Regions from separate parts of the Homo sapiens genome. Here regions 2, 3, 4 and 5 are each linked to region 1. Evidence: promoter capture Hi-C in 16 types of primary human blood cells and fetal thymus (Javierre and others, 2016). All regions are on one chromosome and are shown on one strand. The core of a region is centred on a gene start or on the middle of the fragment in contact, and the rest is flanking DNA. Distances in the headings are between cores, read along the strand shown.

Evidence for each region. Contacts are between HindIII fragments. The CHiCAGO score rates a contact against its expected background, and 5 or more counts as called.
Region 2: a contact is called between a fragment that was not itself captured here and the fragment with the promoter of SUSD3 in region 1, in 5 of 17 cell types (naive CD4 T cells, non-activated CD4 T cells, total CD4 T cells and 2 more). The highest score is 8.9, in naive CD4 T cells.
Region 3: a contact is called between a fragment that was not itself captured here and the fragment with the promoter of SUSD3 in region 1, in 4 of 17 cell types (total CD8 T cells, naive CD4 T cells, neutrophils and 1 more). The highest score is 5.8, in total CD8 T cells.
Region 4: a contact is called between a fragment that was not itself captured here and the fragment with the promoter of SUSD3 in region 1, in 4 of 17 cell types (non-activated CD4 T cells, naive CD4 T cells, activated CD4 T cells and 1 more). The highest score is 7.6, in non-activated CD4 T cells.
Region 5: a contact is called between a fragment that was not itself captured here and the fragment with the promoter of SUSD3 in region 1, in 1 of 17 cell types (neutrophils). The highest score is 6.3, in neutrophils.

Annotation. Positions count from the first base shown.
Region 1 is chr9:93,057,317-93,060,016 of GRCh38, reverse strand. SUSD3 (sushi domain containing 3) reads right to left here and starts at 1,316. Exons shown (of 5, transcript NM_145006.4): 1 at 1,187-1,316. The coding sequence starts at 1,274. RefSeq lists enhancers at 1-240, 241-1,221 and silencers at 732-1,141, 1,152-1,601. The HindIII fragment of the contact is 6,174 bases long and covers 424-2,700 here.
Region 2 is chr9:92,862,146-92,864,845 of GRCh38, reverse strand. All of the region lies in intron 2 of ZNF484 (zinc finger protein 484), which reads left to right. Among named protein-coding and RNA genes, the nearest start is that of ZNF484, 15 kb to the left of the region's middle. The HindIII fragment of the contact is 2,162 bases long and covers 223-2,384 here.
Region 3 is chr9:93,302,530-93,305,229 of GRCh38, reverse strand. All of the region lies in intron 26 of WNK2 (WNK lysine deficient protein kinase 2), which reads right to left. Among named protein-coding and RNA genes, the nearest start is that of WNK2, 120 kb to the right of the region's middle. The HindIII fragment of the contact is 5,309 bases long and covers 1-2,700 here.
Region 4 is chr9:92,844,796-92,847,495 of GRCh38, reverse strand. ZNF484 (zinc finger protein 484) reads left to right here. Exons shown (of 5, transcript NM_031486.4): 5 at 1-2,700. The coding sequence ends at 1,268. Among named protein-coding and RNA genes, the nearest start is that of ZNF484, 32 kb to the left of the region's middle. The HindIII fragment of the contact is 3,007 bases long and covers 1-2,700 here.
Region 5 is chr9:93,281,222-93,283,921 of GRCh38, reverse strand. All of the region lies in intron 19 of WNK2 (WNK lysine deficient protein kinase 2), which reads right to left. Among named protein-coding and RNA genes, the nearest start is that of WNK2, 98 kb to the right of the region's middle. The HindIII fragment of the contact is 3,407 bases long and covers 1-2,700 here.

The DNA of each region.
Region 1 (2,700 bases), core at 67-2,566:
AGTAGAAGGGGCTCCTCAGGTAGTACCAGGCCCTGGGCAGGCCTTGCTCAAACACAGGAGCAAAAGTGCTCATCACCCCAACACCAAATTAGGGACTCTGGACATTAGGCTGCCAGAGTCAAACTAAATAAACCAAATCCACCAGCGCCAGGAACAAGTCTCAGCGCCCACTTTGCTGAGCTGCGGACCTCTGCTCGGTGAATTAGCTCCCTGAGCCGCAGTTTCCCCAACTGTGAGAGGAAGCCATTCTCCTGCCACCTTCCTGCCAGTTCCCTGGGGCTGCAGGCTGACAGTGTGACCTGGTCCAGCCCACCCCACTCCGGGCCTCAGCTTCCTCCTGCGCAGAGCCTTAGCCCCGCAACGCCTGAGACGCCCAGAACCCTCAGGCCTAACGTTCGTGGGCAGTGGCCGCGGAAGTAAGCTTTTGGGATATCTGAGACCCAGAGTTCCGGTTTGGTTCCGTTTCTAAAAGGGTTAGACTTTAGAATCATTCAAGGAGCAAGGCCAGCATTCGAACCCCGGAGCCTTGGGCACGGGAGCAGACAACTCTTTAAGCACATTCTTGAATTCAAACACTTAAAAGTAAAATAAAAAGCAGCTTCTCTTCCTTCCAAAGGCCTCTGAGCCTCCTCCGAGACAGCCGAGGCGATCCCAAGCCTGGCTACAGGGTGACCTCGGACAGCCACTCCCCTCTCGCAGGCTCAGTTTCTCCATCTGTAAAGTGGAGCTGCGCTGGTCACCAAGGAATCGTGAAGATGACACCTCCCTCAGGCGCAGAGAGGGCTCCCGGCTCCCCCCTCCCGCCCCCGCGCCACCCGCCCGCCAGGTGAGGCCGGTTTCGACTTCCCCGGGAGGGGCGCGGAGGGGCCCGGAGCCTGCGGCGTGGAGAGGCTTGGCCGGCCGCGCTGTCCGCAGACGCCCGGGACCAAGGCGCTGCGGCCACTCGGGAACGGGCGCGCGGGCTGCTGCGTGCAGCCGCCTGGTTTCGAACTGCTCGCTGCCAGGCTTCGGCTCCGCTAGGGCGCCTGCTGGGCCGGCGGAGGGTCGAGGAGGTTCGTCCTCGGGGCAGATCGTTGCTGTGGCCCCCACCCACGGCTGTGCGGCCCCGCGACCCCCTCCCCTCGGCTTTCCCGTCTGTGAAATGGGCGCAGAGCCCCGCACGCGGCCACTCGGCCCCAGCCCTCACCTGTGCGGTTCCCTGGGGCAGGCGTGGTGACCCCGGCCCGCCCCCGGGGCCTCGCCTTGCCACGGAGGGTGGCGGCCGCCCAGCGCATCCTGCGCGCTCCGAGGCGCTTGGCGGGGTCTGCCAGGGGAGTGAGCCCGGCTTGTGGGGGCGGGGCCTGGGCCTGGGCCTGGGTGAGGGGCGGGGAGGCCCCGCCCTCCACGCCCGCCCAGGGGCGGTTCCATGCAACTTACAGACCACGCCCACACGTTGGACTGGGGCCGAGGTCCGGCCGGGGGCTGTGGGCGGGGGCCCTTGGGGAGACCAAATACCCAGCGGGCCAAGGCAGCCGGCTGAGCGGAAAGTGTTGCTACTCCGGGGCGTTGCACGCGTGGCTACCTCTGCCCAACACCCTTCCCCCATCCCTTCCTGTTCTCACCTTCACTCCTAGTGTGGTTTTTCCATGTGCTTCTGTGTTTTTATTTTTTGAGCAGGATTTTGCCTTCTCAGGGTGCCGGATTCGGCCGGTACCAAAGGGCAAACAGCAAAACGCCTCCCCGGCCCGCCCCTCCCGTAACCCACTCACCCCCAGAGTCCTGTGTGGACCCAGCCTTCTTTCCCTGTCTCTCACTGGGCCAGGCCGTCTGAGGCACACTGAGGTCTGGGTGCCCTTGTTGTCTTCGGTTCTCACTGAGGGGCCCCCGGCTGGGGGAAACAGGATGGAAAGCCCTGGGGTCTGTCTGCAGGGCCCACCACACCTGGAGGCCTCCCTTCTCCTGGCTTCCCCTTCCCACCCAGCTCCACTTGCAGCAGGCCCAGAGCTGTGATCCGGGCTCTTTCTCTCCCTCTGACCCCACCCAACCCAGGCTTAGCCCCCTGCCCAGGCAGCCACCAAAGGGTTGGGTGTGGTGTCAGGCCTCAGACATCCTGGATCTTGGGCTGCTTGTGGGAGACCACCTGAGCCATGCCTATTCCTGTGGAGCTGGCAAAGGCAATCCTGGCAGAGGGAACAGCAGGTGCAAAGGCCCTGGTTTGGCAATGTGTGGCAGCAGAAGCCCAGTGCGGCTGGCTTAGGCATGCCTCCAGGAGCGCAGAAGGTGGCCCAGGTGGGCCAGGCTGGCTCTAGAGTGCCTGGCAGGTGACCGTGAAGAGTGTGGATGTTCAGGTGGACCATGAAGCAGGGTTCCAGCAGGGCAGCCCCTCCCCGTCTCTGCTTTCCGAGCCCTCCAAAGCTGAGGTTCAGTGTGAAACGTGAGGGGCCCTCCCCCTTTCGCCATCAGGGTTGGCGTCACCCCTGATATGTTCTTCCCACTTGGACTTGTGGGTCACACACGATGGCTTACTTCAATCTCCTTTATTCAAAATCAAGCATGTGTATTCTTTCTGCCATGTCGGGAAGGGCAGGGCCATCAGCAGTGCCCACTCCAGACCACACTCTGGGACCCCAGAATGTCTTGCCAAGTGGCCCCTAGCCCACCTCTCAGGCCTGTGTGGTCCCTTCCCTGGTTTTGCCCACCATGCACCACCAGGCAGAAGGC
Region 2 (2,700 bases), core at 54-2,553, 200 kb after region 1:
TATATCTAGTGATTAATGAATGTAATCTGGTTAAAATCTCTCAGAGTAGGGAGGGGGAGTTGGGAAGTCTCCCATGCGTGTGTAGGTTTATCAATTTCTCCATGTAATTTTGTCAACTTTTGTTTTATGTATTTTAGATTGTCATTCAAAATATGAATTATATTTTCCTGAAGTACTGATCTTTTTGCTATTACGTGGTACTGAATTTTTTGCTTAAAAGCTTAAGAGTCTGTAATTGCAACCCAGTTTCTATCTATTTTATTAGAATTGTCTGGCAAAATGCATTTTAGTATAACAGAAATCTAAGAATTACGGGCTTAAACACAAAAGAAGCAAAAGAAGTCTGAAAGTATTCATTCAGGGCCTGATGTCTTCACAAATTTATACACCTTTTTTTTTTGTTGTTGTTCTCTATGTCATTCTCATTTTGTGATTTTCAACCTCACGTCACTTGATAGTTCCCGAGATTTGCTGGGGTTGCATTAACTGAGTCAGCGTTCCAGGCCAGCAGCATGGTGAGGTTGGGGAGGAAAGGGGCACTCACACCTTCTCCTTTAAAAACTGACATCTCAGAAGTATCGCCTGTATCTCTGTGGCCAAAGTATAGTTTCCTGGTTACATTTAAGGTGGGCTGGGAAAAGAAAGTCTTACTCAGAGTAGCCAGCTAAGAATTCATGTTCTGTTATTAGGGAAGAAAGGATGAGTGAATGTTGGAAGACAACTAGCTATCACTGTCACATCTCCTAAATACAAAAGCCAGAATTTATCTGTCTTTTGCTTTTTTCATCCATCTTGGCATTCAACCCCATCAACTAATCCCCACATACATTCTAAGACGTTACTCTCTCCTGGCTCTGTCCGATTTCTCAGTTTTTATTGCTGACACCTCTTCTTCAATGCTGGTAACTTTTTCAGATTCTTTCCTTTACATTCTCCTTTATCAGGTGTCCTCTCAAGCAGTCTCATTTACTCAGATGATTTTAGTTATTAATTATCTACTGGTGACTCCCAAATCTTTATCTCCACTCTAGGCCTCTGCCTAACGTCCTATAATATGCCTGCCTACATGTTTAATCCCTGTAATCTCAATATGTGCAAAACATAAGTGATTTCATCTGGTTCCCTTTCTCCAACCTTTTCCATTCATCAATCTCTACTTCAGTATATGACACTATAATCTCAGAGTATACAAAACGAATAATTGAGAATTTCACTTTAGTTCCTCCTTTTTCTTACTCCATCTATCAATTCTAATTACCTACTATCTACACCAATTTCTTTTTCTATATTCCTGTTAAATAATATTTTCTCCCTAACTAAGGTGTTTTAATTCTTTCACATGAAATATTGCCTAGACTTCCACTCTTGCTCATTCAAATGTATTCTCCCTGCTGTTTCTTGATAGTCTTTTTTTATTTTTTATTTTAAGTTCTAGGGTACATGTGCAGGATGTGCAGGTTTGTTGCATAGGTAAATGTGTGTCATGATGGTTTGCTGCACCTATCAAGCCATCACCTAGGTATTAAGCCCAGCATGCATTAGCTTTTTTCCCTAATGCTCTCCCACCCCCCACCCTTCCCCAACAGGCCCCAGTGAGTGTTGTTCCCTTCCCTGTGTCCATGTGTTCACATTGTTCAGCTCCCACTTATAAGTAAGAACATGTAGCGTTTGGTTTTCTGTTCCTGCATTAGTTTGCTGAGGATAATGGCTTCCAGCTCCCTGCATGTCCCTGCAAAGGATATGATCTCATTCCTTTTTATGGCTGCATAGTATTCCATGATGTATATGTGCCACATTTTCTTTAGCCAGTCTATCACTGATGGGCATTTGGGTTGATTCCATGTCTTTGCTATTGTGAATAGTGCCACAATGAACATATGCATGCGTGTATCTTTATAACAGAATGATTTATATTCCTTTGGGTATATAACCAGTAATGGGATTGCTGGGTCAAATGGTATTTCCACTTCTAAATCTTTGAGGAATCACCACACTGTCTTCCACAATGGTTGAACAAATTTACATTCCCACTAACAGTGTAAAAGCGTTCCTATTTCTCCACAACCTGGCCAGCATCTTCTTGGCAGTTGTAAACATAAATCTAATAATCTTTTCTCTATATATAAATTACTTTAATGGCAGTCCATTATGTATTGGAGGAAAAATAGTTGCATGATCTCATGCCAGCATACCTCTACTGAAATTTCCTCATAAACACCTTTCCTTCACTGCATACAGACTTCTCATTATGCAGACTAATTTGTGGTTCCCTGAATTTATCATGTATTTTCCTGTCTTTATACCTTTGCTCATGCTGCTCCCTTCTAAAAATCACTTTGCCCTACTCTGCTTGCATTAAACATGGCATCTCCCAAGACTAAGCTTAAGTTTCATCAACTCTACAGAACTTAGTCTTACACTCCATGTAGAATTTTCTTCTCTCTATTTGGGGTCATGCTATGCTTTGCACATCTCTTATGCCCTTTATAATATCTTAGAAAGTTGTTGTAAGTTCTTTGATGTCTTGAAGCATATTGTGTAAAGTTGTGAAGATGTTCACAACATAAAGTTCTCAACATCTTGCTTAGTAAATATATGGCAGGTAATTCCTAAGAATTACCTAAGTAATTATGCTTAATAAATGTATGGCAGTTAATTCTTTTTTTATTTTTTTTTTCAGACTTCTTTCTCAACTACCAA
Region 3 (2,700 bases), core at 94-2,593, 250 kb before region 1:
CCCATGGTCCCATGTAGACAGTCCTAAGCCAGGTGCTTCAAAAAGCTGCTCTGTGTCTATCTGGCAGCTCTTGGTGTGGCTGGAACTCTACATTCAGTGCTAATTCCTGGCTGTTGCCATGCTGGGAAGAACACCATCAAACAGGCCGGCTGCCGGCTGGGAACCACCAGAGGGAGCCTGGACCTGCGATCAGAGCTGGGACTCACTCACTGTCCTGGGAACCTGGGGTCTGGAGTGTCTGGAGGACACGGCACCTGCTCAGAGCCAGGGAGCAACCCTGGCCCACGGAGGCCTCCACGGGCCCTTCCTAAACTTGGGCCCCTCCTAAACTTGGGCCCCAGTGACCAGTGTGCAGACGGCTCCTAGACCTCCAGACAAACTGATGGGTGCCAGTCTTTCAAGGCCATGCTGTCGGACGCCACTCACTGCAGACAACTGGGCTGGGGCAGAGACCTCCCCACACTCTGGACAGCCCTGCCCGTCCTTAGGTGGCTCCTTAGTCCACCTCTCCAGAGCCTCGGCCTCGATTGGGCCCTGCCCCTCACTTGCCCACCATGCAGATGGCACCCAAAGACAGCCCCCACCTGGCCCCCTGCCACTCGCTCTGTGCCAGGAAAAGCACCCCCACCTCCTGTCCATAAGGCAGCAACGGGAGAACAAAGGAAACTTTCAGGAGGCTGCCAATTGACGCCAGGCCCACCTCGGTCTCCCTGTGGGGCTTCCATCCCCAGCCAGGCCCAGGAAGAGGCGGCGCCAAGGCCCTGGACTGCTCAGTGGTGCTGGGGCGGGGGCTTGGCAGCCTCATCCCAGCTGTTGGGGGATCCGCTGCTTTCTTCCCAGAATGTAAAAGTGGCAGCACACAGGACGACAGGAGGGCCGGCTCTTGGACTTGGCATCTCCTGCTTTTGTGCAGCCGACATCAGCTGAAGCCCCCCAGGCGCAAGTGGAGGCTCCCTCCCCACTCCAGCCATGGCACAAAAACAGCCTGCTCTTGGGTCAACGGCCCTGCCCTCTGGGTAGCCCGAGCACCTGCCCCATCCAGACCCTCAGCCTGTGGCCAAGAAGACATCTCAACCAAGAAGGATTCAAACTGAGGGTGTGTGCCTGGGACAGGGGGACTAAAAAGTGGTCAGCCCCTGAGCAATCCCCACATTCGCTTTTCACCTCACAGGGCTCAATACTGCCCAGGAGCCCACGGGACAGCTGGGGCAGCCCACCTCCCATCATGGGTGCCCTGGCGGCTTCACCTCAGTCCCCCACAACTTCCCGCGCACCCTCAGGTGGGTCAGCCCCCGCCATGGTCAGCACTGGCTCCCTTTTCTGGCACAGGAGAAAAATGGGCATCCAGGGACAAAACCCCTTTTAAGGTGTCTACGTATTGAACAACCATGTTCTTGAGCCAAAAACTGTCCACAAAGCATGCATTGGGAAGCAGGATCTGCCTTGGCTCTGCCCAGGGAGACCTGGGGCTGTTTTCATGTTGCCTTGAGCTAAATGACCCCACATTGCACTAGGCCCCATTGCACACAGGCCTGCTCCACAGACAGCCCACAGTGGTACGCAGCACTGACCACCCTGGCTGCAGAGGTCAGGGCCTGGTGGGCGCAGTGCAGGGTGGGGGCCCTCCTCTCTGGATGCCCTCCACCCCGAGGCCTCCTGAACACCTGCTGCAAAGAGCCTCGCTGAGCATGCACTCTCTCCCCACCGGGAGGGATGAAAGCATTCCACGGTGGGAGAAGGCCTAGAAGGCATCGTGCAGTGACACCGGAGGGTCCCTGAGCCAAACATGCTGCAGCCAACAGCCAATGTGGAGAAAACCCAAAGAGATACCAGCGTGCAGAGAGAAAGGCCCACAGGGTGCCAGAACATGCCCGGTCAGGTGGGAAGATCCAGAAGGACCCCAGCTTCTGACAAGCAGAACCAACAGAACCACGACCAGAGGTGCCATCTCAGCATCTGCACCTGACCCTCCTCCCTGGCTCCAAGGCCAACATCCCTTAGAATGCACTGGGCCAGGTGTGGTGGCTCCCACCTGTAATCCCAGCACTTTGGGAGGCCAACGTGGGTGGACTGCTTGAGCCCAGGAGGTCTAGACCAGCCTAGGCAACATGGTGAGACCCTGTCTCTACTAAAAATACAAAAAAGTAGCTGGGTGTGGTGGTGCAGACCTGTGGTCCCAGCTACTTGGGAGGCTGAGGTGGGAAGATTGCTTGAGTCAGGGAAGCGGAGGTTGCAGTGAGCTGAGATCTTGCCGCTGCACTCCAGTCTGGGTAACAGAGCCAGACTTTGTCTCAAAAAAAAAAAGGGAGACTGCTCTGGGGCACTGGGTCATGTGAGCTCCCCACAGCAACTGCTGACCACAAGGGGGCATCTGCAAGCTGGGTGAGAAGTCTATGCCAAGGGGCCCAGCTCACAGGGGTTCTAAGCAGGGCCTTGCACTCCCTAGGGGTCTGTCCACCTGCTGCTCCCAGCCTCCACTGCTTTATTCCCTGTCCTGCACCTTGAGTCAGCTCGGGCCTCTGGAGGTGCCTGCTGCACTGCCCTGCTCTATCCCTGGGCACAGCCACCTGGGCACCCGCAGCCCATCCTCTGGCCTGGCCTCAACCCACCCTGCCTGGGGCCGTTTCATCTTCTCTGACCTTCACAGAGGCCAGGATCCTTCTATATTTCAAAATTTAACACATTTTGTTTTCCTGGAAC
Region 4 (2,700 bases), core at 140-2,639, 210 kb after region 1:
AAAGAATTCATACTGGAGAAAAACCCTATGAATGCAGTGACTGTGGGAAATCCTTTATTAAAAAATCACAACTCCATGTGCATCAGCGAATTCACACAGGAGAGAATCCCTTTATATGTTCAGAATGTGGGAAGGTCTTCACTCACAAGACAAATCTCATTATACACCAGAAAATTCATACAGGAGAAAGACCCTATATATGTACTGTGTGTGGTAAGGCCTTTACTGACAGGTCAAATCTCATTAAGCACCAAAAAATTCATACTGGAGAGAAACCTTATAAATGCAGCGACTGTGGAAAATCATTCACCTGGAAGTCTCGGCTCAGGATACATCAGAAGTGTCATACTGGAGAGAGACATTATGAATGCAGTGAATGTGGGAAAGCATTCATTCAGAAGTCAACATTAAGTATGCACCAGAGAATTCATAGAGGGGAAAAACCATATGTTTGCACTGAATGTGGTAAGGCCTTCTTCCACAAATCCCATTTTATTACACATGAGAGAATTCATACTGGAGAGAAACCCTATGAATGCAGTATTTGTGGGAAATCCTTCACTAAGAAATCACAGCTCCACGTACATCAGCAGATTCACACAGGAGAGAAACCCTATAGGTGTGCTGAATGTGGAAAGGCTTTTACTGACAGATCAAATCTCTTTACACACCAGAAAATTCACACTGGAGAGAAACCTTATAAATGTAGTGACTGTGGGAAAGCCTTCACTAGGAAGTCAGGTCTCCATATACATCAGCAATCCCATACTGGAGAAAGGCATTATGAGTGCAGTGAATGTGGGAAAGCCTTTGCAAGAAAATCAACACTAATTATGCATCAGAGAATTCATACAGGAGAGAAACCCTATATTTGTAATGAATGTGGGAAATCCTTCATCCAGAAGTCACACTTAAATAGACACAGGAGAATTCATACTGGAGAGAAACCCTATGAATGCAGTGACTGTGGCAAGTCTTTCATTAAGAAATCACAACTCCATGAGCATCATCGAATTCACACAGGAGAGAAACCATATATATGTGCTGAGTGTGGAAAGGCCTTCACCATCAGATCAAATCTTATTAAACACCAGAAAATTCATACTAAACAGAAACCCTATAAGTGCAGTGACTTGGGGAAAGCCTTAAACTGGAAGCCACAACTCAGTATGCCTCAGAAATCTGACAATGGGGAAGTAGAGTGCTCCATGCCACAATTATGGTGTGGGGACTCAGAAGGTGACCAAGGCCAACTTTCTTCTATCTAGTTAGAATTATGAACATCTGGATCATATAGCTGATGTGTAGTTACACATATGGGGAGACACTTTTGAGAGTGTTTAAGCAATGTATAGTGGCCATCTTTGGTTACTTGATATTGGTGTTGTCAAGCTCCTGCAAATAATAGTAAATGTGCAAGGAGATGATTGGCAGTCTTTCTTGTTTCACTTTTTGGGCAAACAGTTTTATAAATTCATGGCTGTTGAGTTTTTCATGTTCTGGGTACCACAACTATTCAATATTGACCCGCAAAAATTCATAATGAGTAGTATGATGAGATAATTTTACATTGTCTAAGCAGCCTAAGGACACTGAGATCAAGGCAAAGAGAGGGCAATTTAGGTCTATAATGAAAGTGAATCAGCAGTTTTTGTGAAAACACTAAAGACAGAAAGAAAGGACTCTACTTTTTTTAAAATTTTCTTTGGGAAGTCACCATTATTTATTGTTATATCTGTTGGCGTATGCTGGGGCAGCAGTTAGCCAAGAGGTCTGAAATTGCTCTTTGCCTATTTCTCAAAAGTCTATATTATTACCTTAGAACTGGCCCTACGATCATGGAACTTAGATACAGGGACCCAGGTCTAGATAGCAGCACTTTAGATCCTCAGCTTTCACCACAGAAACCTGCACTTTTTTGATGTTGTTGTTACCAACTCCTGTTTGAAAAATAGGACAAATTAAGAAAATGGATATCAAATCCTAAAATTTTTTCCCACTAATTTTGTTAGTACATTCTCTACATGTTCGTTACTTGCTAGATTACCATGAGACACAAGCATCTTGAATTTTAGTTTGTGTCCTTAGAAGATAAAATGTAGTTGAACATTTGGAAGACTTCTCCTTTTATCTCCTCACAATCTCTACAAACTAATCTTAATTAATTTTGTTTTTCAAATTCTCTGTATTTGAATAGACTTTTTTGTCTTTTCTTCTATCAAATACTGAAAGAACTGTGTTGTAATTTTACAAATAATTGTGAATTTGTCTCCTTTAGAGCTACTAATTTTTGCTTTATATATTTTGTCTTTGATTTTACATACAATTTAGAATTGTTGTAATCTTCCTGGTTAATTGACACATTATCATTATTAGATGTTTCTTTTTATCTCTAGTAATTTTTTGCCTTAAATGTACTATGTCAGATACTAATATACATATGGATTAAAAGCTAATGTAAATTAGTACTAACATTTCTGGACAAGGGGAGAAGTTATAACATTATAATTTCATTTATTTGTCTCTTATATGGTATTAATTTTGTATATTTGGATTCTGTACATGGTGAACATAGCCAATCATTATTTGAGTCAATATCCATTTAAATTAACCCACATATTTATCATTTTAATTACTTTTTTATTCCTTCCTGTCCTTTAAGTTTTCCTCTAGAATTATTTTGCTTCTTACTGAGGAACA
Region 5 (2,700 bases), core at 186-2,685, 220 kb before region 1:
TTTTTAACTATGCAGCATCCATTTGCTTCCTTGTTGGGTAGTGGCACTCCAAATTTCCTCTTGGGAACAACTGTCCCCTACTTTAACTCCAGGGCTATGCCTGCAATTTGGGCACAAGTCAGTGTACATTCCAGCCACCAGCCACAACTGCTTTAGAGAATGTGTCCTTGTTCTGCATAATGGGAGTCAGGGCCAGATGTATGAAACCTTTCAAAAAGGGTCTCTATTTTCTACCTGAAAGACTATACACACTGAGTTGTTCCAGCAATCTTGTCACCATGAAGGGTAGACATGAGAAGGCTTCTAATGACTGATTTGACTTTTTAATGTTTATAGCACCTTTCAGATTTTCTATTTCTTCTTAAGTTTGGTAAGTTGTAGTTCCCTAAGACATAATCCAAAGAAATTTTCAAATTCTTATATTTGTCTTAATGTTTGTAGGACTGTAGCAGTGTCTCCCCCTTTTCATCCCTAATATTGATTACTTATGTCTTTCTCTCTCCTTTAGTCAGTCTCATCACAGGGGGCTTACTAATGCTATGAGCCATTTCAAAGAACCGTTGCTAAGCTCTGTTGATACCCTATTGTATATTTGTTTACTATTTCATTAATTTATGTTCTTATCTATTTTACTTTCTCCTTTCTTTATTTGGGTTCCATTTTCTCTTATGCTAACTTTTTGCACTACATACTTTTATTACTATCAGACTTTTCTCCTGTCCAATATATGCATTTAAAGGCTACAAAGTTTCTGCTCAATATGCTGTTAACTGCATTTCACAAATTTTGATACGTAATATTTTCATTAGCATGATGTTCATATCATCATTCAGAATGTTTTATTAGTTTCCATTGTAATTTCTTCTTTGCCGAATGAGATATTTATAAATGCACTGCTTAACTATCAAATGTGGATATTTTCTAGTTATCTTCTAGTTAATGAGCTTGGGTTTACTTCCAACTTTAATCAAAAGCATGCATCAAGTGATTTTGATTCTTTGAAACTTGTTGAGATTTGTTTTGGGTCTGCGTAAAGTTAAATTAAAAATATTCTGTGTGCATGAAAAAACAGTGCATTCTTCAGCTACTGAGTACAGTGTCCTGTATATATAAGATACTAATTCTGTGGTTGAAATTTTCTCTATCCCTACTGAGTGTCTCCTATTCCAAAAGCTGAAATCTCCCATGATTGTAAATTGCTCCATTTGTTTTAGTTGTGTTAATTTTTATTTTATGCATTTTGAGGGCTTATTACTAAATATAAGCAAACATTAAATTATTATATCTTCCTGGCCAGTTGAATCTTTCACCATTATGTTTTTGCCTTAAAATCTACATTGATATAAAAATATAGACATTAGCTTCCTCTAGGTGAGTATTAGTGTGCTCTTTTTCCATTTTTGTTTTTTACTCTTAATCTTTTTATAATCTTATGTCTTTGTTCTGTTTTTTTTTTTTCACTTTTGAGAATCTTTGAGATTTAGTCCATTTACATTTAATTACTGATCTACTTGGGTTAAAACTAGCATCTTACTAAAGATTTCTATGTGTTCTCCATGTTCAGTGTTGCTGTTTCTTTCCTTCTTTGCCATATTTTAAAAAATTCCTTCCCCACCTGCCCCCTCCACAAGTGTGGAGGTTATCTGCTATTCTACGAGTCTCACAGGGGTTATTCTAGAGACTATCATTTGCATTCTTGATTTGGCTCTCTGCCTAGGCAACATGGAATCCTGGAGCCCTTTAAATGCATTTCCTGCCTCCTGATAAATATGCCCCATTTTCATGCATTTTAACATGCCAAACATTTTAAACCTCAAGACATTATTTTTTCATCCAGTCAAAATTCACTTAGATCTACTCATACATTTATAATTCCATCAGTTTTTGTTCCTACCTGCATTCTGGCCTTTCATCTGCAGTCATTGTTCTTCTGTCTAAAAATATTCCCTTTAGTATTTCTTTAATTGAGCTGTGAAGGTGATGACTGCTTTTCTCTTCATTTCATCTTCATGGAAGTCAGATCCTTTTACCGATATTTGAGGTTGGGGCTTATTTCCTTCAGCACTGCGAGGACAGCACTATTCCTTGTCCACTGGCATATGTTATCTGTACTGAGACAGGGGCTTCCAAACCTTTAAAGGACCTGTTTTTTCTTGGGCATCCTTTAAATTTTCCCATGTGCCTTTGATTTTCAGCACTTTATGATATATGTAAGTGCAGATTTCTTTTTTAACTTACAGAGTTTGGAAGTTTCTTGAATTAGTGGCTTCATGCCTTCCAATTCTCTGCATTATCTCTTCAAACTTGTTTTTGCTGCATTCTCTTGTTTTCTGGGACTCCAATTACATGATGTTTGACCATCTCACTGTAATCTCTATATTTCTTAGCACCTCTTTTCTATTTTCTACTGTTTTCATTATCCTTATTTTACTTTAGTTTCTTTAGAGCTTGCCGATTCTCTCTCTGGCAGTGTACAATCCATCCTCTGATGTCTTAATTTTAACTAATGTATTTTTCAGTTCTACAACTTCCATTTAGCTTTTTTTTTGGCATAGTTTCTAATTCTTTGACAAAAATTTCAATCTAGTCATTTGTTTCTTTTAATGCAGTAGGCAAACTTAGTTCTCAGTCTGATAACTCCACCATTGGGAACCTCTGCTGACATGCTCTGTTACTGCTGTTTGGATCTTAATAGCTTTA